Regions from separate parts of the Homo sapiens genome. Here all the other regions are linked to region 1. Evidence: promoter capture Hi-C in 16 types of primary human blood cells and fetal thymus (Javierre and others, 2016). All regions are on one chromosome and are shown on one strand. The core of a region is centred on a gene start or on the middle of the fragment in contact, and the rest is flanking DNA. Distances in the headings are between cores, read along the strand shown.

Region 1 (5,152 bases), core at 898-3,397:
ACCTCCCGAGTTCAAGCAATTCTCCTGCCTCAGCCTCCTGAGGAGCTGGGATTACAGGCCCGTGCCACCACACCCGGCTCATTTTTATATTTTTAATAGAGACAGGGTTTCACCATGTTGGTCAGGCTGGTCTCAAACTCCTCACCTCAAGTGATCCGCCCATCTCGGCCTCCCAAAGTGCTGGGATTACAGGTGTGAGCCACTGCACCCGGCCAACTCCGTCTCAGAAAAAAAAAAAAAAAAAAAAGAGTCTCACTGCACTAAGCAGAATTATGTAGTGAAGAGAGAATGTATGCTTGTCTTTGCTTGCTGGTGACCTTGTGCTGCACCCGCACCTCGGTGCCTTATCTATAAGATGGAGGTGAGGGCCACCTTGAAGCATGGTTCAGAGGTAAACCTATGCAAAAGTGCCAGCACAAGTACTGGCAGACAATCATTACTCAGCAGTGTTAGCAATCTTTTATTGTTCACCTTACCAGGTCTTTCTAAGCCCAAAGACCTCAGAATTGAGTCCCTCCAACTCAAGGCTTTGGTCTGTGATGAGGAACCAGAGGGGCAGGCTGTGGCAGGGCCTGACCATCTTCCATGACATCAAGCACAAAGCCAAGAGATATGCTCCAAAGTCCCATAAGATCCCTTTTCACCCTTCCTTTAGTGGCCTGTCCCAAGCATATTCCCCTTTCCCCATGAAGTAAAACTTATCCTAGAACTACGTCCTTGAAGATTCCAATATCAATAAAAGGCCCTCAGTCTGGAATTCTGGGATATAACTAAAAAGGTCTTCCTACTCCCTCTCCAAAGCCATATCCACATCCTGAATGATATTAGAAGCTTGCAAGTGGGTACATATTACAGACGCCACACTGACCCCTCCCAGCCTTCATCTTTTCAGATTCCATTCTTTGATTCTCACCCCCTGCCCCACCAACCCTACCATGTGGCAGAAGAGGCCGGCTCAGTCACCAGCACTCTCCCCCACTCCTGGAGTTTAATCTTTTTGCAGGGATCTCTTTTCTCCAAAAAGAGATCTGCACAGGGAGTGGCTCTCTGAAGCCAGTTGAGAACCTGCCCTGCTGGATTTACACAAACTGAAATCTCAAATGCCCACAGGGTCAGAGAGGTAAAGTAAATGAATTAAGAAGGGGGGCGTAATTCAGTGGAGAATGGCAGGGACTGTAGTGAACAGGAGAGCACACTTCTTATACAAATGGCAAGGGCAACTCACCTCTGCCACTGTGGGCATCCCAGCTCTTCCCATTTTCAGAAGAAGCCAGAAATCCAATTTCTTTACAGGTGAAATCTCCTGGTTTAAAAATGCTCCTTTCGAAATATTTTAAAATATAATGCTCTAAACACAAAAGTCTGCAGCCCCCTTTCCAGCAGCTTGTGGTCCTGGCCTGTGCCATGCTTTAGTGCCCTAACGATGAGCCCCAGCAATTCCCAGCGCCTCCTGCTTCTCCAAGTCTGGCCTCTTTTCCCCTCTGTACCGCCGCTTCTCCCCACTCTCCGCAGCTCGGGGTCACTTTCTTTACTGATCTCCCCTCTCTTCTGGGAGAGGCACTTGCTGAACATCTTTCCGCCCGGAGCCTCCCCAGGAGCTGCAGAGGGGCAGCTGGAGAGATGCTTTCTGACGTAGCATCTCCCACCTTTCTCCTTGGGGACCCTGAGGAAGGGGACAAGGGCTCGCTCTGCAGGTCCTCACTGTAACTGGAAAAACACGACCTCGCCCTCGGGAAGGCTTTCTGTGCGCCTCACCTCAGGATGAGGGTGGGTGTAGGGGACACCTCCCAGAAACCCCTAACCTCCCAGTCGGTTAAAGAAGAGGGGATAGGGTCAAGGGATGCGACAGAGCTGTGTGGTTTCCGGATGGGAAACCTCAGTCGTTTAGGCACCCCTCCGCTCGAGTCACTTCCGAAGCAGTCGATTCTTGGGGAGAAGCGCTGCGGAAAGGGGCGACTCCGATGCAGATGGCCCTGTCCCGGCGCCCCAGGTCGTCGCGCGCGCAGCTGCGGTAGTCACTGCGCCTCCCCGCCCCCACTCCTGGATGCCCCCCTTCCCTCTCCCGGCCAGACTCTGAGCAGGAGCTCCGCCCCCAGCGCGCCGCCCCAGCCCCGGCGCCTTAAAAGCCGGGCGCACCGCCCCGCCGCGCCCTGCCTGCCGCACCTCTCCTTTCTTCTGTAGCTCGCGTTGAAGCCGCACGTCCGGCCCCGATCCCGGCACCATGAGCTTCGGCTCGGAGCACTACCTGTGCTCCTCCTCCTCCTACCGCAAGGTGTTCGGGGATGGCTCTCGCCTGTCCGCCCGCCTCTCTGGGGCCGGCGGCGCGGGCGGCTTCCGCTCGCAGTCGCTGTCCCGCAGCAATGTGGCCTCCTCGGCCGCCTGCTCCTCGGCCTCGTCGCTCGGCCTCGGCCTGGCCTATCGCCGGCCGCCGGCGTCCGACGGGCTGGACCTGAGCCAGGCGGCGGCGCGCACCAACGAGTACAAGATCATCCGCACCAACGAGAAGGAGCAGCTGCAGGGCCTCAACGACCGCTTCGCCGTGTTCATCGAGAAGGTGCATCAGCTGGAGACGCAGAACCGCGCGTTGGAGGCCGAGCTGGCCGCGCTGCGACAGCGCCACGCTGAGCCGTCGCGCGTCGGCGAGCTCTTCCAGCGCGAGCTGCGCGACCTGCGCGCGCAGCTGGAGGAGGCCAGCTCGGCTCGCTCGCAGGCCCTGCTGGAGCGCGACGGGCTGGCGGAGGAGGTGCAGCGGCTGCGGGCGCGCTGCGAGGAGGAGAGCCGCGGACGCGAAGGCGCCGAGCGCGCCCTGAAGGCGCAGCAGCGCGACGTGGACGGCGCCACGCTGGCCCGCCTGGACCTGGAGAAGAAGGTGGAGTCGCTGCTGGACGAGCTGGCCTTCGTACGCCAGGTGCACGACGAGGAGGTAGCCGAGCTGCTGGCCACGCTGCAGGCGTCGTCGCAGGCCGCGGCCGAGGTGGACGTGACTGTGGCTAAACCAGACCTGACCTCGGCTCTGAGGGAGATCCGCGCCCAGTATGAGTCCCTGGCCGCTAAGAACCTGCAGTCCGCGGAAGAATGGTACAAGTCCAAGTTTGCCAACCTGAACGAGCAGGCGGCGCGCAGCACCGAGGCCATCCGGGCCAGCCGCGAGGAGATCCACGAGTATCGGCGCCAGCTGCAGGCGCGCACCATCGAGATCGAGGGCCTGCGCGGGGCCAACGAGTCCTTGGAGAGGCAGATCCTGGAGCTGGAGGAGCGGCACAGTGCCGAGGTAGCTGGCTACCAGGTAAGGGCCGGGGCTGGGCGTGGGGAGGGGTGCCCTGCCCTCTTCCGCGCGTACCCTCTTCCTCTGGTAAAACTGGGCCCCAGGACTTAAGGGGAGGGCAAAAGAGAGGAGAGAAGAGCCGCGGCTGGAGGCGCTGGTTAACAAAAAACCCTGGAGTCTTTAATGTTAATTTTAGGGAACGCCCCTCATTTATGTCCCTGCCCCAGCCCTTCAAACAAAGAAGCCCTTAAATTTATTTGAGGTTCGAAAACCCAACTCTGCCTGTCTGTCAGCAAGCGGGCCTACACACACCGGCGACCCGGAGAACAGTGCCCCACCCAAAGTAAGACTGAGCCCAACGGGGCAGGTTACGTGGGCGGTGCTGTCTCGGCTATCTGGCTTGTTTGGTTGACTTTGAAAAGCTTTCTGTGCGCCCTAGAAGTTATTTATGGAGTATGGTCTGCTTCAGGGCTGAAGGAAGAATGCGATCCTGAACTGGGAAGAGTCCTATCCCATTTTCTTGACTTTCGCGCTCCAAAAAGTAGAGATTGGGAGCCAACAAGCTGAGCGATGCTTGAGCTAGTAGTAACCACCCTGCTCTACCCACCTCCCCAACACACACACACACACGATTCCCTTGTCCACCAGCACACACACACACACACACACACACACACACGATTCCCTTGTCCACCAGCTGACATTTCCTCCTTAAGAAAGCGTTCGCCGGTTGGCAAAACGTGAAAGGTCGGGGCGCTGTCCACGGTGCTGATCTCGAGTTCTTCCCATCTCAGAAATTATGTCTCTCCTGTCTCGTGTCCCAGTTATGAATCTCTAGGCAATTAACTGCTTTGATTTTTTTTTTCCTGCAACACCAACACATCAGTCTTGGCTACCTGCAATCAAAGGTCACCTCATAGACAACATCAGTTTTGGCTTTCATGGATGGCTTAGCACTAAACAAAAAACACTTAATTTGCTCAGCAGCTGTGAGGTCCCACTTGAAAATTCCTGTTTTGTTAGTATTTTTTTCATTGTAAGTGCATGTGATAAGTCACAGAGATGGTTTTTCTTTGTTCTAGTGTATGTATTTTTTCCATATTTCCCTGTCCTCTAAGCTCCTGTGATGGTATTGATTGGCTATTTCTTCCCAACAAAGGCCACTGTGTCTTCAGTTTTACTATATAAGAAATTCTGGGATTATGACCGCAAATGGCACAGAGGCAGGGGACAGGGTAAATGGAAGGTGTAGAAAAGAATTGGAATAGTGTGGTTCGGTTTCAAGGTACAATAAAAGCTCCTTTGAATAGAATGACTATAATTCAGAAACTTGCAATAATTCTAGCTAGGATTAAAGTTTACATTTGGTGAGATTAATAGGGCTTGGAACATTGGTAAAATAGAACCAAGAAAGGAATGAAATCTCAAAAGTAACATTTTAATCAGAAGCTAAAGAATTCTTATTGATGTGCAGGTATTTGCTGTTTGTTACAATAACTTCCTTTGATAAAGGAAAAAAGCCTGCTTGGACTGTTTAGGTTAGTTTGGTATTGCATTATCATTCAAATAAGTACTTCCATTTCTGCCTCAAAATCCATAACTTGAACTTTTCATTATGTACCCTAACCCCTGGATGGCCTGAATTAATCACATTTGGCTAATTGAGACTTCATTTTTTTCTTCTAGAAGCCTCCAAGTACGAGCTAGGTGGTCTTCTGGAGGGCTAGCCCAGTATTTCTACAAAAAAAGGATAACTTACTCAGAGCTGCCAGCTGAATTGGGCTTCTCCATTTTCTCTGCTTGTTATAGCCCATACATTCTAAGAAGTAGTGACAGTTTTGCCTGGCTTGTTTGCTGTAAAAGGCTTTCATCATTAGACAATGGTAG
Region 2 (5,152 bases), core at 1,009-3,508, 380 kb before region 1:
ATACCAGTTAAACGCCACCATTTTGCCTCTTAATGTGCATGCTTGAGCCCACTTGCCCAACTCCCGAGATCTTATCGGGAAGCTGCTGATCACCAGTTTCAGGTGTTTCTGTTTATTGGGAGACTTCCTTTCCCTGGTACTGTCTGTGACTAATTATGATTTTCGAGAGACAGTTAACAACCACCTGATCATCACCTAATGATCGCCTGACATTCCTGGTGGAGTCGGCGCGGGGAGCCCTCTCCTGCCCTGCTCACGCCTGACTAGCTATTATACCTGCTTTAACAAGTTCTCCAAAATTCAGAGACCTTTCGTGAGTATTCTGATTTTATAATAAAATAGTTATTTGCATAAGTTTAGTAAGAGTCTTTTCTCTCAAAACAGGACAATTGGAGACACTTGGTTATTTTACCAAAGCTTTGACTGGAATAACATTTGTAGGTAAAGTTCCAGCAAAGCCAACTTGAAAAGAGCCTATCTGGCCAAACTCTTGCTGGACTTCATGCAAATGATCAGGCAAAGTTTAATAAGCCTAAAATTTATTTTGCACATAAATTGGCCTTACTATAATTTGTCTTTAGTATAAAAGGAGGAGCTGGGTGCAGAAGTTCACACTCATAATCCCAGCACTTTGGGAGGCTGAGACAGGCAGATCACTTGAGGCCAGGAGTTTGACACCAGCCTGGGTAACATGTTGAAACCCTGTCTCTACCAAAAATACAAAAAAATTATCTGGGTATGGTGGTGCATGCTGGTAGTTCCAGTTACTCAAGAGGCTGAGATGGGAGGATTGCTTGAGCCCAGGGAGGTGGAGGGCAATGAGCCAAGACTGCACCACTGCACTCCAGCCTGGGCAACAGAGTGAGACTCTGTCTCAAAAAAAAAAAAAAAAAAAAAAAAAAGAAAGAAGGCTAGAGAGAGAAATGGTTTCAAAGGAAAACTATAACACTTGTTACTAGATTTCCAGCCTGGACTTTTGTTTTTGAGTGCATATTGAATCATTAATTATTTCTTGGCTACAATAACCCTCTAAAGATAAACCAGGTTATAATTTTTCTTCATGTTTTTAGTTTGTGCCCTAAGTGGAATAGGTTCCTTATTCTGTTCTGACACACGAATACTCTTTTGACTGTCATATTATTAATGTTATTTATAGCTCCTTGTTTTACTTCCAAAGAAACCAGAATCATGATATTCTAAGGTTAGAGAATCCCCCGTTTGGAATCCCACTGGTCCTAATCTGCTTTTCACTGCAAATTCCGTGCTGCTAAAATTATATAAGCACTCTTCTCTAGGCCCAGGGACCTATCACACAAAAGGTAGGTGTGTGAGACTGTAAGGGCCAGTTTTGAGAGAATTATTTCAGACTCTCCAAATCAAAAATGGGCACACAGATGCATAAACAGCTGGTAAAATAAGGGACTCTGCCTCCTGGGTTATTATGTGTGTGGCACCTTTTCATCCATCCCAATCATAAAGAATTTCCTGCTTCTCGTAGAATGAAAAGAAAATTATTACTGAGAGGATATAAAGGTACCTCATGTCAAAGCCTCCTAGGTTTAATACTCTGAGTTATGAGATTTATGCAGATAACATATATATTTTTTAAAATTTTAGAACAGGCCAGGCACAGTGGCTCAAGCCTGTAATCCTAGCACTTTGGGAGGCCAAGGTGGGCAGATTGCCTGAGCTCAGGAGTTCAAGACCAGCCTGGGCAACATGGTGACACCCCATCTCTACTAAAATACAAAAAATAAATTAGATGGGCATGGTGGCGTGCGCCTGTAGTCCCAGCTACTTGGGAGGCTGAGGCAGGAGAATTGCTTGAGCCCGGGAGGCGGAGGTTGCAATGAGACGAGATTGAGATGGCGCCACTGCACTCCAGCCTGGCAACAGAGTGAGACTCTGTCTCAAAATAAATAAATAAATAAATAAATAAATAAATAAATAAATAAATAATTTTAGAACAAATTACTGAAAGACCACAAAAAAAAAAACTGTAGCACAACGGAAGTCTCTAAATTCCTTAGCTTAAAAGGTTTTAACAGTGCTTATGTTTTGTATAGCTAATTGCTGTAAGTCTGTAACTAAAACCAAGATTACAGTAGCACAATGCATAGAAGTTAAAGATAAGTCAATTTTTTAACCTCACCTTTGGCTTTTTGTTTGTTGGCTTTTATATTAAGAAATTTTAAGGGTTTATTAATGCCTATCCACATCCATTCCCATCTGGCCTAGAACTTTCTTTTTTTTGGTGGGGGAGGGGGACGGAGTCTTCCTCTGTCACCCAGGCTGGGGTGCAGTGGCGTGATCTCATCTCACTGCAACCTCCGCCTCACAGGTTCAAGTGATTCTCCTGCCTCAGCCTCCTGAGTAGCTGTAATTACAGGCATGTGCCACCATGCCTGGCTAATTTTTTTTTCTTTTTTTTTTTTTTTTCCGAGATGGAGTCTTGCTCTGTTGCCCAGGCTGGAGTGCAGTGGTGCGACCTCGGCTCACTGCAACCTCTGCCTCCCAAGTTCAAGCGATTCTTCTGCCTCAGCCTCCAGAGTAGATGGGACTACAGGTGCGTGCCACCATGCCTGGCTAATTTTTATTTTATTTTTTTAGTAGAGATGGGGTTTCATCATATTGGCCAGGCTGGTCTCGAACTCCTTACCTCATGATCCACCCACCTTGGCCTCCCAAAGTGCTGGGATTATAGGCATGAGCCACTGTGCCCAGCCCTAATTCGTATTTTTAGTAGAGACAGGGTTTCACCATGTTGGTCAGGCTGGTCTCAAACTGCTGATCTTAGGTGACCAACCTGTCTCGGCCTCCCAAAGTGCTGAGATTACAGGGGTGAACCACCATGCCTGGTCTGGCCTAGAACTTTCAAATTCGCTATGTGTCTTTTGGCTCTAAGCCCCTTGACCATAGGGGTCCCACCAAGGCACAAGATGGACCCAGGGAAGGCAGCTGTGCCACCCCAGCAACACAGTGAGATAAAATAAAAGTTTGGTGACCATTGATGTTGCCTCTGACAAATCTAGGCCAGAATGCGGAGAAAGTAAATCAAAAATAAAATTCTAGGCCGGGCGCGGTGGCTCACACCTGTAATCCCAGCACTTTGGGAGGCCGAGGCGGGTGGATCACAAGGTCAGGAGTTCGAGACCAGCCTGGCCAACATAGTGAAACCCCGTCTCTACTAAAAATAAAAAATCAGCCAGGCGTGGGGGCAGGCACCTGTAGTCCCAGCTACTTGGGAGGCTGAGGCAGGAGAATTCCTTGAACCTGGGAGGTGGAGGTTGCAGTGAGCCGAGATCATGCCACTGCACTCTAACCTGGGCGACAGAGCGAGACTCCATCTCAAAAAATAAAAAAAAATAAAAAAATAAAAAAATAAAATAAAATTATAAACCCTCAACCATCTGAACGGACCCCTCCTGTCGGGCAAAGGCATTGCAAAGTTATCCTAAAAAACTAGTTCAGGTCACGAAGGGAAGGAGAAGTTTGGACATGCCTCATTATTCCCTCCTCCCTTTTGGAATTCAGACACTGCTGACCAGCATTACCATTAAAACAGATCTTAAGACTGATAGAACAGACTCTTTAAATCTGGTAAGAAACATTTACAATCTATTCTCTCTGTAGCCTGCTGCCTAGAGGCTTCATCTGCATGATAAAACCTTGGTCTCCACAATCTCTTATCATAACCTAGACACTCCCTTCTATTGATCCCAGGTCTTTGGATTATAACTCAACCAATTGCCAATCACAAAATCTTTGAATCTGCCTGTGACCTGGAAATCCCCACTTCCAGTTGTCCCACGTTTCTGGTCTGAACCAATGTACATATTATATGTATTGATTGATGTCTTATGTCTCTCTAAAATGTATAAAACCAAGTTATAGGGTGACCACTTTGGGCACATGTTTGCAGATCTCCTGAGGGCTGTGTCACAGGCCATTGGTCACTTATTTGGCTCAGAATAAATCTTTTTAAGTATTTTAGAGTTTGACCCTTTTTGTTGACAATGTTTAACATCCTACAGTTATGACACCCTAATTTGAATTTATACAGCTTAACTTCAATAACATACTAAAATTCTGCTCCTTTAAAGCTTGTTCTCAACTATTTTAGTTCTTTTTTTTTTTTTTCCATTGACAGAGTTTCACTCTATCACCCAGGCTGGAGTGCAGTGGCACGATCTTGGCTCACTGCAGCCTCTGCCTCCTGGGTTCAAGTGATTCTCCTGCCCCAGCCTCACAAGTAGCTGGGATTACAGGTGCGCCAGCCACCATGCCTGGCTAATTTTTTGTATTTTTAGTAGAGGCGGGGTCTCATCATGTTGGCCAGCCTGGTCTCGAACTCCTGACATCAGATGATCCACCAGCCTCGGCCTCCCAAAGTGCTGGGATTACAGGTGTGAACTACCACGCCCGGGTCTTTCTAGTTCTTGATATCACAAAATTATGTCTTTATTCATTTTGTGCCCCCAAAACGTAAACTAATAATTATTTTAAATGCATTGGTCTCTTAAATCATGTGGAAAACAAAAAGTAGAGTTACAAACCATTGTTACAATAATACTAGCTTTGCCGGGTGTGGTGGCTTACGCCACCAGGTGATCCACCCACCTAGGTTGCCCAGCCTGGGCAACAAGAGCACAACTCCATCTCAAAAAAACAAAAACAAATAAACAAAAAACCCCAATAATACCAGCTTTTTTTTTTTTTTGAGACAGAGCTTCGCTCTTGTTGCCCAGGCTAGAGTGCAATGGTGCGGTCTTGGCTCACCGCAACCTCCGCCTCCTGGGTTCAAGCGGTTCTCCTGCCTCAGCTTCCCAAGTAGCTGGGATTACAGGTGCGCACCATCACAGCCGGCTAATTTTTGTATTTTTAGTAGAGACGGGGTTTTACCATGTTGGTCAAGCTGGTCTCAAACTCCTGACCTCAGGTAATCCACCTGCCTTGGCCTCCCAAAGTGCTGGGATTACAGGCATGAGCCACCGTGCCCGGCCAATCCCAGCACTTTGGGAGGCTGAGGCTGGCAGACCACTTGAGGTCAGGAGGTCAAGACCAGCCTGGCCAACATGCTGAAACCGTGTCTGTACTAAAAATACAAAAATTAGCTGGGCACGGTGGCAAATGCCTATAATCCCAGTTACTT
Region 3 (5,152 bases), core at 806-3,305, 330 kb before region 1:
CTCAGCCTCCCAAAGTGCTGGGATTACAGGCATGAGCCACCACACCTGGCGGTAGTAGTGATTTAAATGGTATCTAGTGGCCGGGCACAGTGGCTCATGCCTGTAATTCTAGCACTTTGGGAGGCCGAGACAGGCAGATCACTTGAGGTCAGAAGTTCGAGACCAGCCTGGCCAATATGGAGAAACCCCATCTCTACTGAGAAAATACTAAAAATACGCGCGTGGTGGCGCGTGCCTGTAATCCCAGCTACTAGGGAAGCTGAGGCAGGAATCTGGAAGGTGCTTGAATCTGGAGGGCGGAGGTTGCAGTGAGCCGAGATTGCGCCACTGTACTCCAGCTTGGGCAACAAGAGTGAAACTCCATCTCAAATAATAATAATAACAATAATAATAATAACAACAACAACAAATAAATCACTACTACCTTCTGATGAGGAGACACACTCCATCCTAACTATTGGGTTGTGAATAAGCTTATCAGTAAAGTCACAGTTTACCAATCTGTTTGATAATACTGGTTTATTGAGTCCATGATATGTTCCTAGCACTCTATTAGTTATAAAAGATACCTAAAGCACGACCACTATAGAACTTACTATCTAATAGGGGAGAAAAGACTCAAATACATGATTCCAGCATGACAGCTCCTGTCGTGGAGATACATGCAGGATGCTATGGGCACCCAGAGGAAGGACTTTGGGCCGAGAGTTAGTCACAGGCAGATATTGGTATTAATCATTATGTGGTAATATTTCCTGAACAAGAGCATAGGCGTTGTCAGGCAAAAATGTCTAGAAAATACTCAGTTGATTAATTTGATGGAGGAAAAATAACTTCTAAGGTAAAAATGAAATGTTTGTAAGTTATGAAGGTTACAGTTTCAGGCTGATAAGGAGTTTAGCAAAATTGCCTTAAACATTAATTCACTTGTGGAAATAATATGAGAAACAGAGTCTTACCATATTTTTCAACTGTGCATGTATTTTTTAATATGTAGTTATTTAGTATGATATTAATATTTTGTCAGTTATTATTTTTCTTTGAAGGTGATTTAGGCCTGGGTGAGGTGGCTCACATCTGTAATCTTAGCACTTTGGGAGGCTTGAGGCGGGAGGATTGCTTGGAGCTAAGAGTTCTAGACCAGCCTGGACAATAAAGCTGAGACCCCATCTTTACAAAAATTAGCCGGGTGTGGTGATGCGCACCTGCACTCCCAGCTACTCATGACACTGAGGCTGGAGGATCGCTTAAGCCCAGGAATTCAAGGTTGTATAGAGCTATGATTAAACCAGTACACTCCAGCCTGGACAACGTGAGACCCTGTCTCAAAAAAAAGAAAAAGAAAATAATTTGGGAAAACTCACTGTAATTTTAATTTTAAGGGGATGCTTTATAATAAAGCAAGAATTGCAAGATAAAAGTCACTTTTCAGCAATTTGTTTTACAGAAGCTACATTAGGACATATCTCTATCTTTAAGTGAGGTGTACTCATATATATATTTTTCCCTTTCTGTAATATTAGTTCCTCCTGGGGGCAATAGGAATTCTTTCTTTCTCTTTTTTTTTTTTTTTTTTTTTTTTGAGATGGAGTCTCATTCTGTCACCCAGGCTTGAGTGCAGTGGTGTGATCTCAGCTCACTGCAACCTCTGCCTCTTGGATTCAAGCAATTCTCCTGCCTCAACCTCCCAAGTAGCTGGGACTACAGGCGCCTGCCACCATAGCTGGCTAATTTTTGTATTTTTTTAGTAGAGACAGAGTTTTACTATATTGGCCAGGCTGGGTTTTTTTTGAGGCGGAGTCTCACTCTGTCACCCAGGCTGGAGTGTAGTGGCGCAGTCTTGGCTTACTGCAACCTCCACCTCCTGTGTTCAAGTGATCCTCCTGCCTCAGCCTCCTGAGTATCTGGGATTACAAGCGTGTGCCACCATGCCCTGATAATTTTTGTATTTTTAGTAGAGACAGGGTTTCACCATGTTGGCCAGGCTGGTTTCGAATTCTTGATCTCAAGTGATCTGCCTGCTTTGGCCTCCCAAAGTGCTGGGATTATGGGGATGAGCCACCATGCCTGGCTGAAAGTATTTCTTTTAAGCCTGAGTCATTCTGTGGGCTTTGAGCACGCTTGCATGCTTTTAAGGATAACTTGCCAAACTGAATCTACCTTTATTTTGCTGTGTGTTTTATGGTTGTCTAAAAATTTTAGAAACTTTTTTTTTTCTTTTTTTTTTTTTTTACAGACAAGGTCTCACTTTGTTGCCCAGGCTGGGGTGCAGTGGTCTGATCCTAGCTCACCGCAATATTGACCTTCTGGGCTCTAGCAGTCCTCCCACCTCAGCCTCTTGAGTAGCTGGCACTATAGGTGTGTGCCGCCATGCCTGGCTAATTTTTTTTTTTTTTGAGACAGGAATTTCGCTCTTGTTGCCCAGGCTGGAGTGCAATGGCACAATCTCGGCTCACTGCAACCTCTGCCTCCTAGGTTCAAGCTATTCTCCTGCCTCAGCCTCCCGAGGAGCTGGGATCACAGGCATGCGCCACCACACCCGGCTAATTTTGTATTTTTAGTAGAGACAGGGTTTCTCCATGTTGGTCAGGCTGGTCTCGAGCTCCCGACCTCAGTTGATCCACCCACCTCGGCCTCCCAAAGTTCTGGGATCACAGGCGTGAGCCACCACGCCCGGCCAATTTTTTAAATTTTTTGGGAGAGTCAGAGTCTTTGCTATAATGTCCAGGCTTGTCTTGAACTCCTGGGCTCAAACAGTCGTCCTGCCTTGGCCTCCCAAAGGGCTGGGATTATAGGCGTGAGCCACCACGCTGGCCAGAAACTGATTTTAATAATATTTTAAAAATGTTAAATGATGGGGGCCGGGCGCAGTGGCTCACGCCTGTAATCCCAGCACTTTAGGAGGCCAAGACTGGCGGATCATGAGGTCAGGAAATCGAGACCATCCTGGTTAACATGGTGAAACCCCGTCTCTACTAACAATATGAAAAATTGGCTGGGCGTGGTGGCGGGTGCCTGTAGTCCCAGCTACTCGGGAAGCTGAGCCAGGAGAATGGCATGAACCTGGGAGGCGGAGCTTGCAGTGAGCCGAGATTGCACCACTGCACTCCAGCCTGGGTGACAGAGTGAGACTCCGTCTCAAAAACAAAAACAAACAAACAAAAGTTAAATGATGACATAGTGAGACCCTGTCTCTACCAAAAAAAAAAAAAAAAAGTTAAATGGATACCCTTTCACATAAGTCTGTTTAAATTCATTAGTTGGGGCACTGGGGAACATTGGAGCTTGTTTTCCTGAGGAACCCGAGTGTTGGGGGCAACCTAGTATTCCACCCCATCTGGTAGAAGCTCTATAGGATGTGTTACGTAGGTCTCTTAAATATATCAATGCAACTGTGACTAAAAAGTAGTTCTGCTTCAGTACTTGAATAGAAGTCCTTGATGGTTCTGGGCTGGAAACATATAGGGTGTGCTAATAAGGTTGGTAAGAACTCTGTATGTTGGTGATGTCATTGTGAAGTCAGTTGGTATATTTATTGCAGGGAAACTTGGAATTATTTCCTACTGATGAGTGTAAAGGAGAAAATATAATTTGGCATTTGTTGAACTACTTAACCATTCTCTTAAGCCAGTTTTACTAAGCTTTAAAATGTCAGTATTGCACCTGTTATATTATGAAACTTTATGGACATGACTTGAGATTTCTCAGTGAAGAATTACAGGAAATAAAATTTTAAAAAATCAAAAGTGCTGGTTTCAGTTTTTATTTAGATTGTTACTTAAAACTTATAATCTAGCACAATGGGAGAGTTTTCAGGTGATAATAATTGTAGCTTCATTTATTTATTTATTGAGATGGAGTCTCACTCTGTCGCCCAGGCTGGAGTGCAGTGATGCGACCTCGGCTTGCTGCAACCTCTGCCTCCTGGGTTCAAGCAGTTCTCCTGCCTCAGCCTCCTGAGTAGCTGGGATTACAGGTGCCCGCCACTACACCTGGCTAATTTTTTTGTATTTTTAGTAGAGACACGGTTTCACCATGTAGGCTAGGCTGGTTTTGAACTCCTGAAGACCTCAAGTGATCCACCTGCCTCGGCCTCCCAAAGTGCTAGGATTACAGGCATGAGCCACTGTGCCCGGCCTATTTATTTATTTTTAAAGATGAGATCTCATTCTGTCATCCAGGCTGGAGTGCACTGGCTTGATCTCAGCTCACTACAGTGTCCACCTTCAGGGCTCAAGCGATCCTCCCACCTCAGCCTGCTGAGTAGCTGCGACCACAGGCACGTGCCACCATGTCTGGCTAATTTTCTGTATTTCTGGTAGAGACTGGGTTTTGTCATGCTGGCTAGGCTGGTCTCTAGCTCCTAAACTCAGGCAATCCACCTGCCTTGACCTCCCAAAATGCTGGGATTACAGGCATGAGCCACTGTGCCTGGCCTAATTGTAGCTCTATGTATTATTGACTATATGCGAGGTACTGTGCTATTTAATTTTACCTAACAACAGCCCAGTGAAGCCCAATGAGTAAATTATTAGTTCCAATTTATAAGTCAGGAAACCAAAGCTCAGAAAGGCCAAATCACTTGCTCAAGGTTACTTTGTGAGTAAGTGGCATAGTAAGAATTGAACCCCAGACTGCTCAAAGACACCAAACCACTGTGCTATTTTCTATGTAACATTGTATTTTTCTTTTCTTTTCTTTTCTTTTTTTTTTTTTTTTTGAGACAGGGTTTCCCTCTGTCATCAGGAGGCTGGAGTGCAGTGGTGTGATTATAGCTCACTTTAGCCTCGACCTCCTGGGCTCAAGCAATCCTCCTGCCTCAGCTTCCTGAGTAGCTGGGACCACAGGCACACAGCACCATGCCTGGCTCATTCTTTGTATTTTTGGGGTCTCACTATGTGGCTTGGGCTGTATCGAACTTCTGGACTCAACTGATTCTCCCACTTTGGTCTCCCAAAATGCTGGGAATACAGGCATGAGACACCGTGCCTGGCCTGTATTTTTCAATAGTCATATTTAATAAAATTTTTAAAGGCATAATTCAATTAATAAATGTAAGATGATGAGGGACCTGATACAGTTTCACCTTTCATGTTTCCTATGACATCTCTTCAGAAGCGTTTGTTGAGCCACTGTATGCAGTGCACAATGC
Region 4 (5,152 bases), core at 1,509-4,008, 310 kb before region 1:
TTGGCCTGGCGTGTGGCTCATGCCTGTAATCCCAGCACTTTGGGAGGCTGAGGTGGGCAGACATCTGAGGTCAGGAGTTTGAGGCCAGCCTGGCCAACATGGCGAAACCCCATCTCTACTAAATATACAAAACAGCCGGGCTGGGTGGCAGGCACCTGTAATCCTAGCTACTCAGGAGGCTTAGGCAGGAGAATTGCTTGAACCTGGGAGACGGAGGCTGCAGTGAGTCGAGATCGCACCATTGCACTCCAGCCTGGGCAACAGAGCGTGGACTCCATCCCAACCTAAAAGGATCTTGTTTAAATGGTGCCTATTCCCTGTAGATTTTGTAGCTTGGTATTACAAATATTTATTTAGTGCCTGCTATATGTAGGATGTAATATAAAATAGATTAATAACATGGTCCTTTCCTCAAGGAATTGTCATGGAATTAGGAGGTGGGAATAAAGGAGACGAAGATACATGTGCTGAGTGCAAAGCTCAGGGAAGATTGAAAATATGCAGTCTCCTTGGGAGTGAGGTGGGATGAGGAGTGGGGCAGGATATAAATGAAGTTTCTAGGAGGAGGTACTTAATTAAGGCACAGAATCATGGAAGTGTCTGGAAGAATGCAGAGAGCTATGAGCAATCTGGTAGGTCCATGGGGCTACCTGGGGTCTGGTGTGATCCAGCTCACTTTAGCCTCGAATTTCTGGGCTCAGAGGATCCTCCCATGTCAGCCTCCCCAGTATCTGGGATTACAGGTGCATGCCAACATACTTCGCTACGTTTTTTAAAAAATTTCTTTTAGAGATAGGGGTCTTGCTGTGTTGCCCAGGATGGTCTTGAACTCCTGGCCACAAACAGTCCTCCCACCTCAGCCTCCTGAGTAGCTGGGATTATAGGTGGGAGCCACTGTGCCTGGCCTCCTTTCTCCTCCTAAACTGGTTTTATTGAGGTATAATTTACATACCATAAAACCCACCCATGTAAGCATACAATCCAGTGATTTGTAAAAGTAAATTTATAGAGTTGGGAATTGCCACCTCAACCCAGTTTTAGAACACTGCTTTGTCCCTGGAAGTTTCCTTTCTTCTGGGTCAATCCCTGCTTTCATCTCCAGCCTCTGGCAAACACTGTTATGCTTTCTGTCTCTATAGATTTGACTTTTCTAGAAATTTCCTATAAAAGGAATCATAGGTAGTCTTTTTTGTTTGGCTACTTTCACTTAGCAAAATGTTTTTGAGGCTCAGCCATGGTGTAGCATGTATAAGTTGTTTGTTCCTTTATGCCGATTAATTGTATTTGATTGCATGGATATACCACATTCTGTTACCCATTTGCTAGTTGATGGGCATTTGTATTGTGTCCAGGTTTAGGCTGTTATTAATAACGCTCCAAGGCTGGGCGCGGGAGCTCATGCCTGTAATCCCAGCACTTTGGGGGGCCGAGGCGGGCGGATCACCTGAGGTCAGGAGTTCCTGCCCAGACTGGCCAACATGGTGAAACCCCGTCTCTACTAAAAATACAAAGTTAGCCAGGCATGGTGGCAAGTGCCTGTAATCCCAGCTACGTGGGAGGCTGAGGCAGGAGAATCGCTTGAACCTGGGAGGCGGAGGTGGCAATGAGCTGAGATTGTGTCACTGTGCTCCAGCCTGAGCGACACAGTGAGACTCTGTCTCAAAATAATAATTCCCTGTGGGCACTTGCATGAAGTCTTTGTGTGGACATGTTTTCATTTCTCTTGTGGAGATACTTAAGAGTGAAGTTTCTGGGTCATATAGTAAGAATATATATATATTTTACTTTTCAAGAAGCTGCCAAACTGTTCTCCAACTTGGCTGTATGTACCATTTTACAACCAGCAATGTCTGAGGGTTTTGGTTTTTCCACATCTTTTTGTTGTTGTTGTTGTTGTTGTTTTGTTTTGTTTTTGTTTGAGACGGAGTCTGGCTCTGTCACCTAGGCTGGAGTGCAATGGCGCAATCTCGGCTGACTGTAACCTCTGCCTCCTGGGTTCAAGTGATTCTCCTGCCTTAGCCTCCCAAGTAGCTGGGACTACAGGTGCCCAGCACCAAGCCCGGCTAATTTTTGTATTTTTAGTAGAGACAGGGTTTCACCATATTGACCAGGCTTGTCTCGAACTCCTAACCTTGTGATCTGCCCGCCTTGGCCTCCCAAAGTGCTGGGATTACAGATGTGAGCCACCCAACCTGGTTATTTTCCACATCTTTGTCAACACTTGGCATGTGAGTTATAACCATGCTACTGGGAGTGTAGTGCTTTTTTTTTTTTTTCTTTGAGACAGGGTCTTGCTCTGCCTCAGGCTGGTCAGTGGTGCGATTATAGCTCATTGCAACCTTGACCTCTGTGGCTCAAGTGATCCTTCCGCCTCATTGCACTGAGTAGCTGGGACTACATACAGGTGCACGCCACCATGCCAGGCTAATTTTTTTGTAGAGACAGCATCTGACTATGTTGCCTAGTCTGGTCTCAAACTCCTGGGCTCAAGCAATATTCTTGCCTTGGCTTCTCAAAGTGCTGGGGTTACAGGCATGAGCCACTTGTGCCCAGCCAGTGCTGTCTTTTTTTTTTTTTTTTTTTTTGAGACAGGGTCTCACTCTGTCACCCAGGCTAGAATGCAGTGGAATGATCTTGGCTTACTGCAGTCTCCACCTCCTGGGCTCAAGTAATCCTCCCACTTAAACTTTCCGAGTAGCTGGGATTACAGGTGTGCACCACCATGCCTGGCTAATTTTTTCTATTTTTTGTAGAGACAGGGATTTGCCATGTTGTCCAGGCTAGTTTTGAACTCCTGGGCTCAAGTGATATGCCCACCTCAGCCTCCCAAAGTGCTGGGACTACAGGCATGAGCCACTGCACTGCGCCTAGTAGTGCTTTTTTTTGAGGCGGAGTCTCGCCCTGTCGCCCAGGTTGGAGTGCAATGGGGCAATCTCAACTCACTGAAATCTCCGCCTCTGGGGTTCAAACGATTCTCCTGCCTCAGCCTCCCGAGTAGCTAGAATTACAGGTGCCTGCCACCACGCCTAGCTAATTTTTGTATTTTTAGTAGGGACGGGGTTTCACCATGTTGGCCAGGCTGGTCTCGAACTCGTGACCTTGTGATTTGCCCGCCTCGGCCTCCCAAAGTGCTGGGATTACAGGCGTGAGCCACCATGCCCAGCCAGTAGTGCTATCTTAGTTGTAGTTTTGCTTTGTATTTCTCCACCGACTGGCAGTCTTTTAATATTGTAAATTATTTCGGCTATTTCAGAAAACACTACTCTATAATAGCGGCAATTGGTGTTGTGGTTCACTGTTTTGTTTGTTTTCTTGAGGCGGAGTTTTGCTCTTTGTTGCCCAGGCTGGAGTGCAGTGTTGCGATCTCAGCTCACCGCAACCTCTGCCTCTGGGTTCAAGTGATTCTCCTGCCTCAGCCTCCCGAGTAGCTGGGATTACAGGCGTGCACCACCACGCCTGGCTAATTTTGTATTTTTAGTGGAGACGGGGTTTCTCCATGTTGGTCAGGCTGGTCTCAAGCTCCTGACCTCAGGTGATCCGCCCACCTCGGCCTCCCAAAGTGCTGGGATTACAGGTATGAGCCACCGTGCCTGCCTTATTAACTGTATTTTTTTCTAAAGCTCTTGAAAGAATTTTTGTATGTGAAGAATCCAGACACTATTTTATTAGAGACTCTTTGCTTACTTATTTTTACTCTTTCTTTTTGAGATTTGTAAAATTATCCTCTGATATAAACTACCTGTGGCCTGCCACCTGCTTTTGTATGCCCCAGGAGTAAAGAATTTTATTTTTAAATGGTCGAAAGTAAAAGAATACTATTTTAGCCAGGTGTGGTGGTGCATACTTATGGTCCCAGCTACTTGGGAGGTTGAGGTGGGAGGATTGTTTGAGCTGAGGAGTTTGAGGCTGCAGTAGCCATGATTGTGCCCCTGCACTCCAGTCTGGGCAACAGCATGAAATGCTGTCTTGAAAATAATTGTGATATGTGAAAATTACATGAAATTCAAATTTCAGTGTCATAAATAAATTTTGATTGGAATACAGCCATGCCTATTCATTTATGTGTTACCCATGTCTGCTTTTGTGCTATAAGGGCAAGAGTAGGGTAGTTTCAGTAGAGACTGTACAGCCTGCGTAGCCTAAAATACTTACTGCCTGGCTCTTTACAGAAAGTTTGCCCACCCTGGCTCTCACCCATTCCAGATGTTGCCTATTCTCAGAAAAAAATTTGCTATTGACTTGTCCTTTTGGTTCAGTTCCTTTTTTAGAGATAGGGTCTCACAATGTTGCCCAGGCTGAAGTAGAGTGGCTGTTCACAGGCACAGTACCAGTACTGATCAGCATGGGAATTTTGACCTGCTCTGTTTCCTCCCTGGGCCAGTTCACCCCCCTTCTTCAGGCATTGGTTCAGTTCTTGTGTTGGTTCTCCAGTTTGTTGTTACTGGGAAACCTGAATTCATTTCTCAAGTGTCACCCTGGAAGGGAAGAGACTTATTGAAAGATTCCTGTTTTGTAATGTGTTCTTTCCTGGCTTGGTGACTCTAGTTAAAGTTAGTCTCTGGGGCTTGGTGTGGTGGCTCATGCCTATAATCCCAACACTTTGGGAGGCCAAGGTAGGATAATCATGTGAGCCCAGGAGTTTGAGACCAGCCTGGACAAGATGGTGAGACCCTGTCTCTACAAAAAAAAAAAAAATCTAAAAATTAGCTGGTCCTGGTGGCACTTGCCTCTAGTCCTGGTTACTCAGTAGGCTGAGGTGGGAGGATCCCTTGAGCCCAGGAGTTCAAGGCTGCAGTGAGCTATGATTGTGCCATTTACACAATCCAGCCTGGGTGACAGAGTGAGACCCCATCCTTTTTTTTTTTCTGCAAACACTATGGTGACTTAGAGACCTCGTCCCTAAAAAAAAAAAAAAGAAAAAAAAAAAAGTCTCTGGGACCTTTTAAGAAAGTCACCCAGTAAACAAAGGGGAAAGAATGGTGCTTTTGTAGATGAAGGTATCACGTTAACTATTTGTGTTTGGAAAGTGATGCTGTGTAACATAGATAATTTTGTTTATTGGTTTTTTTAAGTGCCCATTATAAAATTTAAGATAATACAGAGGTATAGGAAGTCACTTACCCCCTCATTCTACTCTTACTTGTCGCCATTA
Region 5 (5,152 bases), core at 1,411-3,910, 290 kb before region 1:
ATTACAGGCATGAGCCACCTGGCCTAGTTTGTTTCATTTTACATAGCACTTAAATTGTAAATTTTTTTTTTTTTGACAGAGTCTTGCTCTGTTGCCCAGGCTGGAATACAGTGGCGGGATCTTGGCTTATTGCAACCTCCACCTCCCAGGTTTGAGCGATCCTCCTGCCTCAGCCTCCTGAGTAGCTGGGATTAAAGTGCCCGCCACCACGCCTGGCTAATTCTTGTATTTTTAGTAGAGATGGGGTTTGATCGGGCTGGTCTCGAACTCCTGACTTCAGGTGATCCACCCGCCTTGGCCTCCCAAAGTGCTGGGATTACAGGTGTGAGCCACTGTGCCTGGCCAGATTGTAAATTTTATGAGCCTACTGTTGGTTGGCAGTAGTTGTTCAGTAAATATTTTTTGAAAGAGTTAATAAATGAATGCATGTAGTTATGGATGAAGATTACGTGAATAAAGACTGAAGCCCAGAGAGGTTAAAAACTTATGTGATAATCCAAGACAATAAATAAAGCTATTTGGGAATGTTCTTTATTGTCCCCTGATGGATGTGTGGAATTGTTTTACTAGGGAGGAGGATTCAGCAGAAGCTGGATAAACAATTATAGGGTTTTTATGTGGTGTTGACATGTAGAATAGCCAAGGTTAAATTGGCCAATTAAAGCTGGAGTAAGATGGCTTTAGGAAGTGTTATATATTAACAGAATGAGAGAAATAATCAGAAATAATTTCTTAGTCCCAGTAGCCATTAAGTAGGGGAATTTTAATTTTTAAGTGATGGCTCCAGGTCTTCATGTGTATAAGATTCTTGCAGGAAAATTTTTTGATGTTACTAGTAATTTTAAAGGAATATGTGTAAAAGGCTTAGGGTAGTGCTCGCTCTACAACTAGATATTTGACAATCTAAGCCTAGATTATAACTGAAATATAATTGTGTAATCTTGTCCTTACTTCTATCTTATTTTTTTGAGACGGTCTCACTCTGTCACCCAGGCTGGAGTGCAGTGGTGTGATCTCGGCTCACTGCAACCTCTGCCTCCCGGGTTCAAGTGATTCTCCCAAGTAGCTGGGACTACAGGCGCCTGTCACTACGCCTGGCTAATTTTTGTATTTTTAGTAGAGGTGGTGTTTCACCATGTTGGCCAGGCTGGTCTCTAACTCCTGACCTCAAATGATCCACCCACCTCAGCCTCCCAAAGGGCTGGGATTATAGGCTTGACCACTGTGCCCGGGCTTTACTCTTATTTTAAATGTCAGTTTGTTAAGGACAGAAAAAAAGACTGAATTTTGCTAATATTTTCTACACTTGATCTTAGCCAAAAGGCCGAGAAGCGATGAATTTTGCTAATATTTTCTAACATGAAAAGGAAATAACGAAGGGAAAGTCTTTTTTTTCTTTTTAACTTTCTGCAGCAGTTGGGCAAAATTCCTGCTTTGTGTAGGAAACCCTGGCAGACCTTGAGAATTCTAAATTGCTGCAGATTGTTTTATCTTTTTTTTCTAAAACAATTTGAATAGCGGATCCTTTCCATCTGAAACAAGTTTTTCCCCTTCTCACCCTCTTGTTTCATGTAATTAGCAGTCCTCCTCTGTATATTCCTATTTTGTCTGATATAGCCAAAATTCTTTAAAAAGAATTTTAAAATTTTAAAATTCTGCTGTGAGTCCGGCAAAGGGGCTGAGAGAATTTCTGTGTCAACATCATTGAGAACTCTGAAAGCTTCTTTACATACCAAGCTCCTCCTCATCAAAGCTAGATACAGGAAGTGTTTATGGTCCCTTTCTTCCAAGGGAATGGCTCTAAACTAACCAGCAGACCCTGTCTCACTTATGTTCTCCTTCAGGTTCTTCCTTGACATCCTACTGGCTACTCTTAGTCATGTTCTTTCTAGCCATCAAGTCTCCAAACTGCGTGGCCAGACAACTTGAGTTACCTGGGAAGTTCCTAGGGGCTAGATAAGTACTTTATGCCTTATTCTACAGCAGAATATTTGTTTTGTTTACATGACCAGCTCAGATTGATAGAATAGCTGTCTTTTAGCAACAGTGTAATCATTTAATGACAGCTGTTCAAGGGACTAGTAAAAGGATTGGGAAAGGGGGGCCTTCTAAACAAAGTGAATGGGCCCTGCCAACTGAGGAGTGATGTCTCCTAAATGGTTGGCATGTTCAGACTTCAGAGTATTATCCATCAGCTTGGAGACCCACAAGTTTTTTAAATATCTAGTGTTATCTGTTTACCTGTTAGCTTGGTGCCAAAGTGATTGCACCTTACCTCCAGACCATGTCTGTGCTTGCCCTGATGTACCTGTCATGTTCAGTACCTGTTTTGGTTTATAGGGCTTGGACTAGCTCCGATGTTCACTTGCCCTGTTTTACTTAGAGAAAGTCATCATGTGACTAAATTTTAAGATTACAAAGATAATGCATGTGATTTAGACTTGAGTGTGTAAAAGGCTTAGGGTAGTGCTCACTCTACAACTAGATATTTGACAATCTAAGCCTAGATTATAACTGAAATATAATTGTGTGATCTTGTCCTTACTTCTATCTTATTTTTTTGAGGCGGTCTCACTCTGTCACCCAGGCTGGAGTGCAGTGGTGTGATCTCGGCTCACTGCAACCTCTGCCTCCCGGGTTCAAGTGATTCTCCCGAGTATGGGTGGTGATGGACCATTTGTAAAGCCTCAGAAGCCAAACTGGAATTAATGTGAAAGTTATAGGGAAGTTAGTTTCAGCTTAATCAAAGTAGAATTTCCAAAAAGTAGAGCCATTTGAAAATGTCCTGTGGCTGGGCGCGGTGGCTCACGCCTGTAATACCAGTACTTTGGGAGGCCGAGGTGGGCGGATCACGAGGTCAAGAGATTGAGACCATCCTGGCTAACACGATGAAACCATGTCTCTACTTAAAAAAAAAAGTCAGCTGGGCATGGTGGCAGGTACCTGTAGTCCCAGCTACTTGGGAGGCTGAGGCAGGAGAATGCTGTGAACCTGGGAGGCGGAGCTTGCAGTGACCCGAGATTGCGCCACTGCACTCCAGCCGGGGTGACAGTGCAAGACTCAGTCTCAAAAAAAAAAAAAAAAAGTTTTTATCCTCCAGATCGTAGAATTATATTACTAGAGGTGGTGATTCAGCAGAAGCTGGATAAGCAATAATAGGGATTTTGTGTAAGTGTTGACATATGGGTAGGGTGGGCTAGGTGATTTGCTAATAGTGAGATATTTTGATTCAAGTATAAATTTCAGTAGTTGCAGATGAACACAGAAGGAACAAGCACAGATTTCTGCTGATGGTTAGTAAGACAACATTGCCAAGGGAGGGTGTCCCCAGAAGAGCAGAAAACCTAATATGAAAGCTCAAATTTAAAAGATGGAAGCAGGAAGTAAACTGCTGAAGGAGAATGTTCAGAGGAAGAAAACCAGAGGGTTTAGGGTACAAAGGCTGAGGGTGGAGAGTTTGAAGGAAGAAGAAGAAATTAGAGAACCATAAAGAAAATGATATATTCTAAAGCGGTAGTCCTCAAGGTAAATTGCATGTAGCTGTGCCTTGGGATGCAGTAGGACTTACATATATATATATGAATGAATATGCATATACATTAAGCTTATTATTATTATTATTATTTTGAGACGGAGTCTCGCTCTGTCACCCAGACTGGAGTGCAGTGGCGTGATCTCGGCTCACTGCAAGCTCCGCCTCCCAGGTTCACGCCATTCTCCTGCCCCAGCCTCCTGAGTAGCTGGGACCACAGGTGCCCACCACCACGCCTGGCTAATTTTTTTGTATTTTTAGTAGAGGTGGGGTTTCACCATGTTGGCGAGGATGGTCTCGAACTGCTGACCTCGTGATCTGCCCGCCTCGGCCTCCCAAAGTGCTGGGATTACAGGCTTGAGCCACTGCGCCCGGCCAAGCTTATTTTTATATGGATTTCATGATGTATATATTTTGTAATATATATAATTTATAAGTAAATATAAATTAGGGAGGTGTACTCAACATTTTCATAGAATACATAGTCAAAAATGGTTTGCAACCTCTGCTCTAACAAAAATAAAACACCCTACATCTTTGGTTCAAGATTGTCACCCCCAACAGTTGTGTGAAATGTGGGGCAGGAATTATCACTATTTTCCTTTGGAAATTAAGGTTCCAAAGATAATGAGACCAGAGCCAAAGGTCAGAGTCCACTGTCTTCTCTCTGAGGCCTCAATGTGAAGACCTGAACTGTGGCAGCAGATAATTCTGGAGACCTGTTAATCAGCTGTATGCACCACGCTACTTAATTGATTTAGAAATATTGAAAAGGCCGGGCATGGTGGCTCATGCCTGTAATCCCAGCACTTTGGGAGGCCGAGGCGGGTGGATCACCTGAGGTCAGGAGTTTGAGACCAGCCTCGGTAACCTGGTGAAACCCCGTCTCTATTAAAAATACAAAAAAACTTAGCCGGGAGTGGTGGTGGGCGCCTGTAATCCCAGCTACTTGGGAGGCTGAGGCAGGAGAATCACTTGAACCTGGGAGGCGGAGGTTGCAGTGAGCCGGGATTGCACCTAGTGCATTCCAGCCTGGGCAACAGAGCGAGGCTGTTTCAAAAAAATAATAATAGAAATATTGAAAAGGCGTGGGACAAAGATAGGGTCTCAAGACCCTTACTGTAGTCAGGGGTGTTAATACGTTTTAGACTGAAACCTGTGAATGCTCACAGGTGCAAATGAAAGTGACACAGATACTACAAAAGTGCTTTCGTTTGACCACAAAGAAATTCTATAGGTCTGGGATTCTCAAAGTTTTGACATGTCATTTTAAGAATCTTATACAAAGTATAGACCTTTTCCCCAGAAGTATGCATACACACACATACTTTGGCATACAGTTTGAGTGAATGTCTCGTTCTGCAGCTGCCCTAGAGCATCCAGGGACCTCAGCTCATCATTTGCTAACTTTACCAAATGATGGGTTAAAATTCTCTTCCTTGGTAAAATTCTGCCCACACCCTATCTTTTGGGCACTTAATTATACCTAAAAATAGCATTGAGAAAAGCAGCTATTTCATCCACAATTAGAGAATATTCTTGAGTCCAGCATCAAAGCCATTATGGTGCTTTGATCAATAAGTTTGTTCTCCACGGAAGTGAGGCTTAATGGCTTAGGTG
Region 6 (5,152 bases), core at 1,178-3,677, 270 kb before region 1:
GAGACCTAAATGTACGAACTAAAGCTATAAAACAGGCCAGGTGCGCTGGCTCATACCTGTAATTCCAGCACTTTGGGAGGCTGAGGTGGGTGGATCATTTGAGGTCAGGAGTTCGAGACCAGCCTAGCCAAAATGGTGAAACCCCCTGTATACTAAAAATACAAAAATAGCCAGGTGCATGCCTGTAATCCCAGCTACTTGGGAGGCTGAGACACAGGAGAATCACTTGAATCGGGAGGCAGAGGTTGCAGTGAGCCGAGGTCCTGCCACTGCGCCCCAGCCTGGGTGATCAGAGCAAGACTTTCTCCCAAATAAATAAATAAATAATAAAACTATAAAACACCTAGAAGAAAACAGGAATAAACCTTCATGACTTTGGATTAGGTAAAGCTTTCTTAGATATGACACCAAAAGCAAAAGCAACCACAGAAGAAAATTGATGAATTGGACATCACAGTTAAAAATTTCTGCTCCTAAAGGATACCATCAAGGAAGTGAAAAGAACCCACAGAATATGAGAATATTTTTGCAGATTATATCTGATAAGGGACTGTAAGAGTTCTTTATTCTGGATACAACTTAATAGTAAAAAGACAATCCAATTTAAAAATGGGCAAAGGATCTTAATAGACATTTCTCTAACAAGGATGTACAAATGAACAATAAGCACGTGAAAAGATGGGAAATACAAATCAAAACTACAAGACAGCACTTTGTACTCACTAGGACGGCTATAATAGAAAAAGATAACAAGCCTGGGCTGGCGAGGATGTGGCTGACAAGACTGGAATCTTTTTTTTTTTTTTTTTGAGACAGAGTTTCGCTTTTGTCGCCCAGGCTGGAGTGCAATGGCGTGATCTTGGCCCACTGCAGCCTCCACCTCCTGGGTTCGAGTGATTCTCCTGCCTCAGTCTCCTGAGTAGCTGGGATTACAGGCATGCGCCACCACACCCGGCTAATTTTGTATTTTTAGTAGAGAGGGGGTTTCTCCATGTTGGTCAGACTTGTTTCGAACTCCCAGCCTCAGGTGATCCACTTGCCTCAGCCTCCCAAAGTGCAGGGATTACAGGCGTGAGCCACTGCGCCTGGCTGGTTGGAATCCTTATACATTGGTGGAGGTAATGTGGAATGGTCTAACTGCTCTGAAATAGTTTGGCAGTTACTCCAAATGCTAAACATAGATTTACCATATGACCCTGCAATTCTGCTACTAGGTATATGCTCAAGAGAAAGAAAAACATATATTCACATAAAAACTTGTACGCAGTTGTTCATAGCGGCATTATTTATAATACTTAAAAAGTGGAAACAACCCAAATGTTCATCATTTGGTAAATGGGTAAATAAATGTGGTGTATCCATGCTATGGACTATTATTCAGCCATAAAAAGGAATGAAGTATGCATACATGCTATAACATGTGTGAATCTTTTTTTTTTTTTTTAATAGGAGTCTCACTCTGTTGCCCAGGCTGGAGTGCAGTGGCATGGTCTCAGCTCACTGCAACCTCCGCCTCCTGGGTCCAAGCGATTCTCATGGCCTCAGCCTCCTGAGTAGCTGGGATTACACGCACGAGCCACCATACCTGGATAATTTTTGTGGTTTTAGTAGAGACAGGGTTTCACCATGTTGGCCAAGCTGGTCGCCAACCTCTGACCTCAGGTAATCCGCCTGCCTCAGCTTCCCAAAGTACTGGGATTACAGGCATAAGCTACCACACCTAGCCCTCCTTCTAGTACTTTTTTAAGTGAACTTTTAAATTATAACGTGTATACAGAAAAGTATGCAAAAAGTTACTAGTATATAGCTTGATGGGTTTTCCCATCCATGTAGAATTATGCATGTCATGAAATAAACTGGGTGCGTTGGCTCATGCCTGTAATCCTAGCACTTTGGGAGGCTGAGCCAAGCAGATCACTTGAGGTCAGAAGTTTGAGACCAGCCTGGCTAACATGGTGAAACCCTGTCTCTACTAAAAATACAAAAATTAGCCGGAAATCACTTAAACCCAGGATGCTGTGGTTGCATTGAGCCAAGATCGCGCCACTGCACTCCAGCCTGGGCACCAGAGCGAGACTCTATCTTTTTTTTAAAACACTATTCTCTCCTAGTTACTGTATCCCCCCGGGTAACCACTGTCCTGACATTAACATCAATTTTTCCTGTTTTTATACTTTATATAAATGAAAACATACAAGGTGTATTCTTCTGATATGATTTCTTTTACACAGCATTATATTTGTGAGTTGTATTGTAGACTGTGCATTCTCATTGCTGAGTAGTACTCCATTGCATGAATTTTTTTTTTTTTTTTTTTTTTTTTTGAGATGGAGTCTTGCTCTGTCTCCAGGCTGGAGTGCAGTGGCGCAATCTCGGCTCACTGCAACCTCTGCCCCCACCCCCGCCCCGGGTTCAAGCGATTCTCCTACCTCAGCCTCCCAAGTAGCTGGAATTACAGGCACCTGCCACCAAGCCTGGCTAATTTTTTTGTATTTAGTAGCAATGGGGTTTCACCATGTTGGCCAGGTTGGTCTCGAACTCCCGACCTCAGGTGATCTGCCCGCCTCAGCCTCCCTAAGTGCTGGATTACAGGCGTGAGCCACCATGCTCAGCCTCATTGCGTGATTATACCACACTTTATTCTTTCTATTTTTGAACATTTAGGTAGTTTTCTTGTTTTTAGCTATTATGAATAGTGTTGCTATGAATATTCTCGAACATGTCTTTTGGTGGACATCTGTGTGCATTTCTGATAAGTGTGTGCCAGGAAGTGGAATTGCTGGATCATAAGGCAGTGCTTCTCAAACTGTATTGTGCACATCAGTTTCCTGGGAATCTTGTTAAAAGGTAGATTCTGCTTCAGTAGTTCAAGGGTAGAGCCTGAGAGTCTGCATTTGTCAGGAGCCAGTTGGACTGGCTGTGGACCACACTTTGAGTATACCAAGGCCATAGGATATGCTTGTGTTTGGTTTTAGTAAAGAATGCCAAATGGTTTTCCAAAGTTACTGTCTCAGTTTACATCTCCAACAGCAGTGCATGAGATTCCTTTGTTTAGGTGTGTGTGAGTCTGTTTCGCTCAAACTTTTACATATCTTCTTCTAGATCGTCTCAGCTTTTCTTGGACCTTTTGTGTTTTCACATAAATTTTATAATTGGTATCAGTTTCCACATACAACCTGCTGGATTTTTGATTTGGATTGTATTGAATCTGTAGATCAACTTGAGAAAGAACTAGTGTTTCAACATCCAAATTCCTGAACATGGCTTATAGCCCTCCATTATTGAATGGTCTTTAATTTCTTTTTTTTTCCCCCCTCCAGGTTAAAGTGATTCTCCTTCCTCAGCCTCCCGAGTAGCTGGGATTATGGGCATGCGCCACCACACCCAGCTAATTTTTTTGTATTTTTAGTAGAGACGGGGTTTTTCCCTGTTGGCCAGGCTGGTCTCGAACTCATGACCTCAAGTGATCCACCCACCTCGGCTCCCAAAGTGATAGGATTACAGACCTGAGCCACTGTGTCTGGCCTAATTTCTTTCAGTAATATTTCTAGTTTTCTGTATAGAGATTTTATTTGCTAGTTCATTCTTAAGTATATGATTCGTTGATACTATTGTCAATGATTTCATTCTAAAATTTCTATTTAATAATTGTTGGCTGCTGGTATATAGAAGTACAGTTGGCCAGGTGCGGTGTCTCACACCTGTAATCCCAGCACTTTGGGAGGCCAAGGTGGGTGGATCACCTGAGGTCAGGAGTACAAGACCAGCCTGGCCAACATGGTGAAACCCCGTCTCTGCTAAAAATACAAAAATTAGCCAAGCATGGTGGTGCACACCTGTAATCACAGCTACATAGGAGGCTGAGGCAGGAGAACTGCTTGAACCTGGGAGGCAGAGATTGCAGTGAGCTGAGACCGCACCACTGCACTCCAACCTGGGCAACAAGAGCGAAACTCCGTCTCTCAAAAAAAAAATTGATTTTTGTATGTTAACCTTTAATGGAACAATATTGGTAAATTCACTTACCATTTTTCATTGTATATATTACTTTATTTTTTTGAGACAGGGTCTCATTTGTTCACCCAGGCTGGAGTGCAGTGGCATGATCATAGCTCACTGCAGCCTTGATCTCCTAGTCTCCAACAGTCCTCTTGCCTCAGCCTCCCAAGTAGCTGGGACCACAGGCACATACCACCATGCCCAGCTAATTTTTGTATGTTTTGTAGAGACAGGGTTTTACCATATTGCCCAGGCTGGTCTCAAACCCCTGGGCTCAAGCTCATGGTTATATATAGATTCTCTTGGATTTTCTTTGTGAATGTAATCGTGTCATATGCAAATCATGACAGTTTAATATATTTCCTTTCCGAGGTTATTTCTTTCTCTTTCTGGAATGTACTGTTTGGGACCTGCAGTTGAATAGGAGTGATAGTGATATCCTTGTCTTATTTCCCATTGCAGGGGGAAAGCTTTCAGTATTTCACCATTAACTGTGATGTTTGCTTTAGATTTATTTTCTTTTTTCTTTTTTTTTTTTGAGATGGAGTCTGGCTTTGTCATCCAGGCTGGAGCACAGTGTCTGGATCTTGGCTCACTGCAACCTCTGCCTTGGGGGTTCAAGCAATTCTCCTGCTTCAGCCTCCCAAGTAGCTGGGATTATAGGCACCTGCTGCCACGCCCAGCTAATTTTTGTATTATTGGTAGAGACTGGGTTTCACCATGTTGGCCAGGCTGGTCTTGAATCCGGACCTCAAGTGATCCACCCGCCTCAGCCTCCCAAAGTGCTGGGATTACAGGTGTGAACCACCACTCCTGGCCTGCTTTAGATTTTGTATAGCTCCCCTTCATCAGATTGAAAAAGGCCTTATATTCCTAAATTTGCTAAAAGATGGTTTTGGTTTTTTGGTTTTAAAATCATGGCCAGATACTGAATTTTGTCAAATGCTGGTTCTTCTTTTACTTAGGGTCTCACTCTGTCACCCAGGCTGGAGTGCAATGGTGCGATCTCAGCTTACCGCAGCCTTGACCCCTCTAGCTCAAGCGGTCCTCCTACCACAGCCTCCTGAGTAGCTGGGATTACAGGTGCACACCATCATACCCAGATAATTTTATTTATTTATTCATTTATAGTGATGGGGTCTCGCTATGTTGC

The links. Contacts are between HindIII fragments. The CHiCAGO score rates a contact against its expected background, and 5 or more counts as called.
Region 2: a contact is called between a fragment that was not itself captured here and the fragment with the promoter of INA in region 1, in 2 of 17 cell types (erythroblasts and M2 macrophages). The highest score is 8.3, in erythroblasts.
Region 3: a fragment that was not itself captured here is called in contact with the fragment with the promoter of INA in region 1 in 3 of 17 cell types (endothelial precursors, M0 macrophages and M1 macrophages); the score reaches 10.2 in endothelial precursors.
Region 4: a contact is called between a fragment that was not itself captured here and the fragment with the promoter of INA in region 1, in 1 of 17 cell types (endothelial precursors). The highest score is 5.4, in endothelial precursors.
Region 5: a fragment that was not itself captured here is called in contact with the fragment with the promoter of INA in region 1 in 3 of 17 cell types (endothelial precursors, M0 macrophages and M1 macrophages); the score reaches 7.3 in endothelial precursors.
Region 6: a contact is called between a fragment that was not itself captured here and the fragment with the promoter of INA in region 1, in 1 of 17 cell types (endothelial precursors). The highest score is 5.5, in endothelial precursors.

Annotation. Positions count from the first base shown.
Region 1 is chr10:103,274,991-103,280,142 of GRCh38, forward strand. It overlaps INA (internexin neuronal intermediate filament protein alpha), which reads left to right and starts at 2,148. Exons shown (of 3, transcript NM_032727.4): 1 at 2,148-3,286. The coding sequence starts at 2,222. RefSeq lists an enhancer at 2,563-3,167. The HindIII fragment of the contact is 2,856 bases long and covers 830-3,685 here.
Region 2 is chr10:102,891,073-102,896,224 of GRCh38, forward strand. The region is part of intron 10 of AS3MT (arsenite methyltransferase); the gene reads left to right. All of the region lies in intron 14 of BORCS7-ASMT (BORCS7-ASMT readthrough (NMD candidate)), which reads left to right. Among named protein-coding and RNA genes, the nearest start is that of AS3MT, 24 kb to the left of the region's middle. The HindIII fragment of the contact is 3,686 bases long and covers 416-4,101 here.
Region 3 is chr10:102,949,424-102,954,575 of GRCh38, forward strand. All of the region lies in intron 1 of CNNM2 (cyclin and CBS domain divalent metal cation transport mediator 2), which reads left to right. Among named protein-coding and RNA genes, the nearest start is that of CNNM2, 34 kb to the left of the region's middle. The HindIII fragment of the contact is 3,168 bases long and covers 472-3,639 here.
Region 4 is chr10:102,966,347-102,971,498 of GRCh38, forward strand. The region is part of intron 1 of CNNM2 (cyclin and CBS domain divalent metal cation transport mediator 2); the gene reads left to right. Among named protein-coding and RNA genes, the nearest start is that of CNNM2, 51 kb to the left of the region's middle. The HindIII fragment of the contact is 6,484 bases long and covers 1-5,152 here.
Region 5 is chr10:102,983,712-102,988,863 of GRCh38, forward strand. All of the region lies in intron 1 of CNNM2 (cyclin and CBS domain divalent metal cation transport mediator 2), which reads left to right. Among named protein-coding and RNA genes, the nearest start is that of CNNM2, 68 kb to the left of the region's middle. The HindIII fragment of the contact is 1,884 bases long and covers 1,719-3,602 here.
Region 6 is chr10:103,001,688-103,006,839 of GRCh38, forward strand. The region is part of intron 1 of CNNM2 (cyclin and CBS domain divalent metal cation transport mediator 2); the gene reads left to right. Among named protein-coding and RNA genes, the nearest start is that of CNNM2, 86 kb to the left of the region's middle. The HindIII fragment of the contact is 4,079 bases long and covers 389-4,467 here.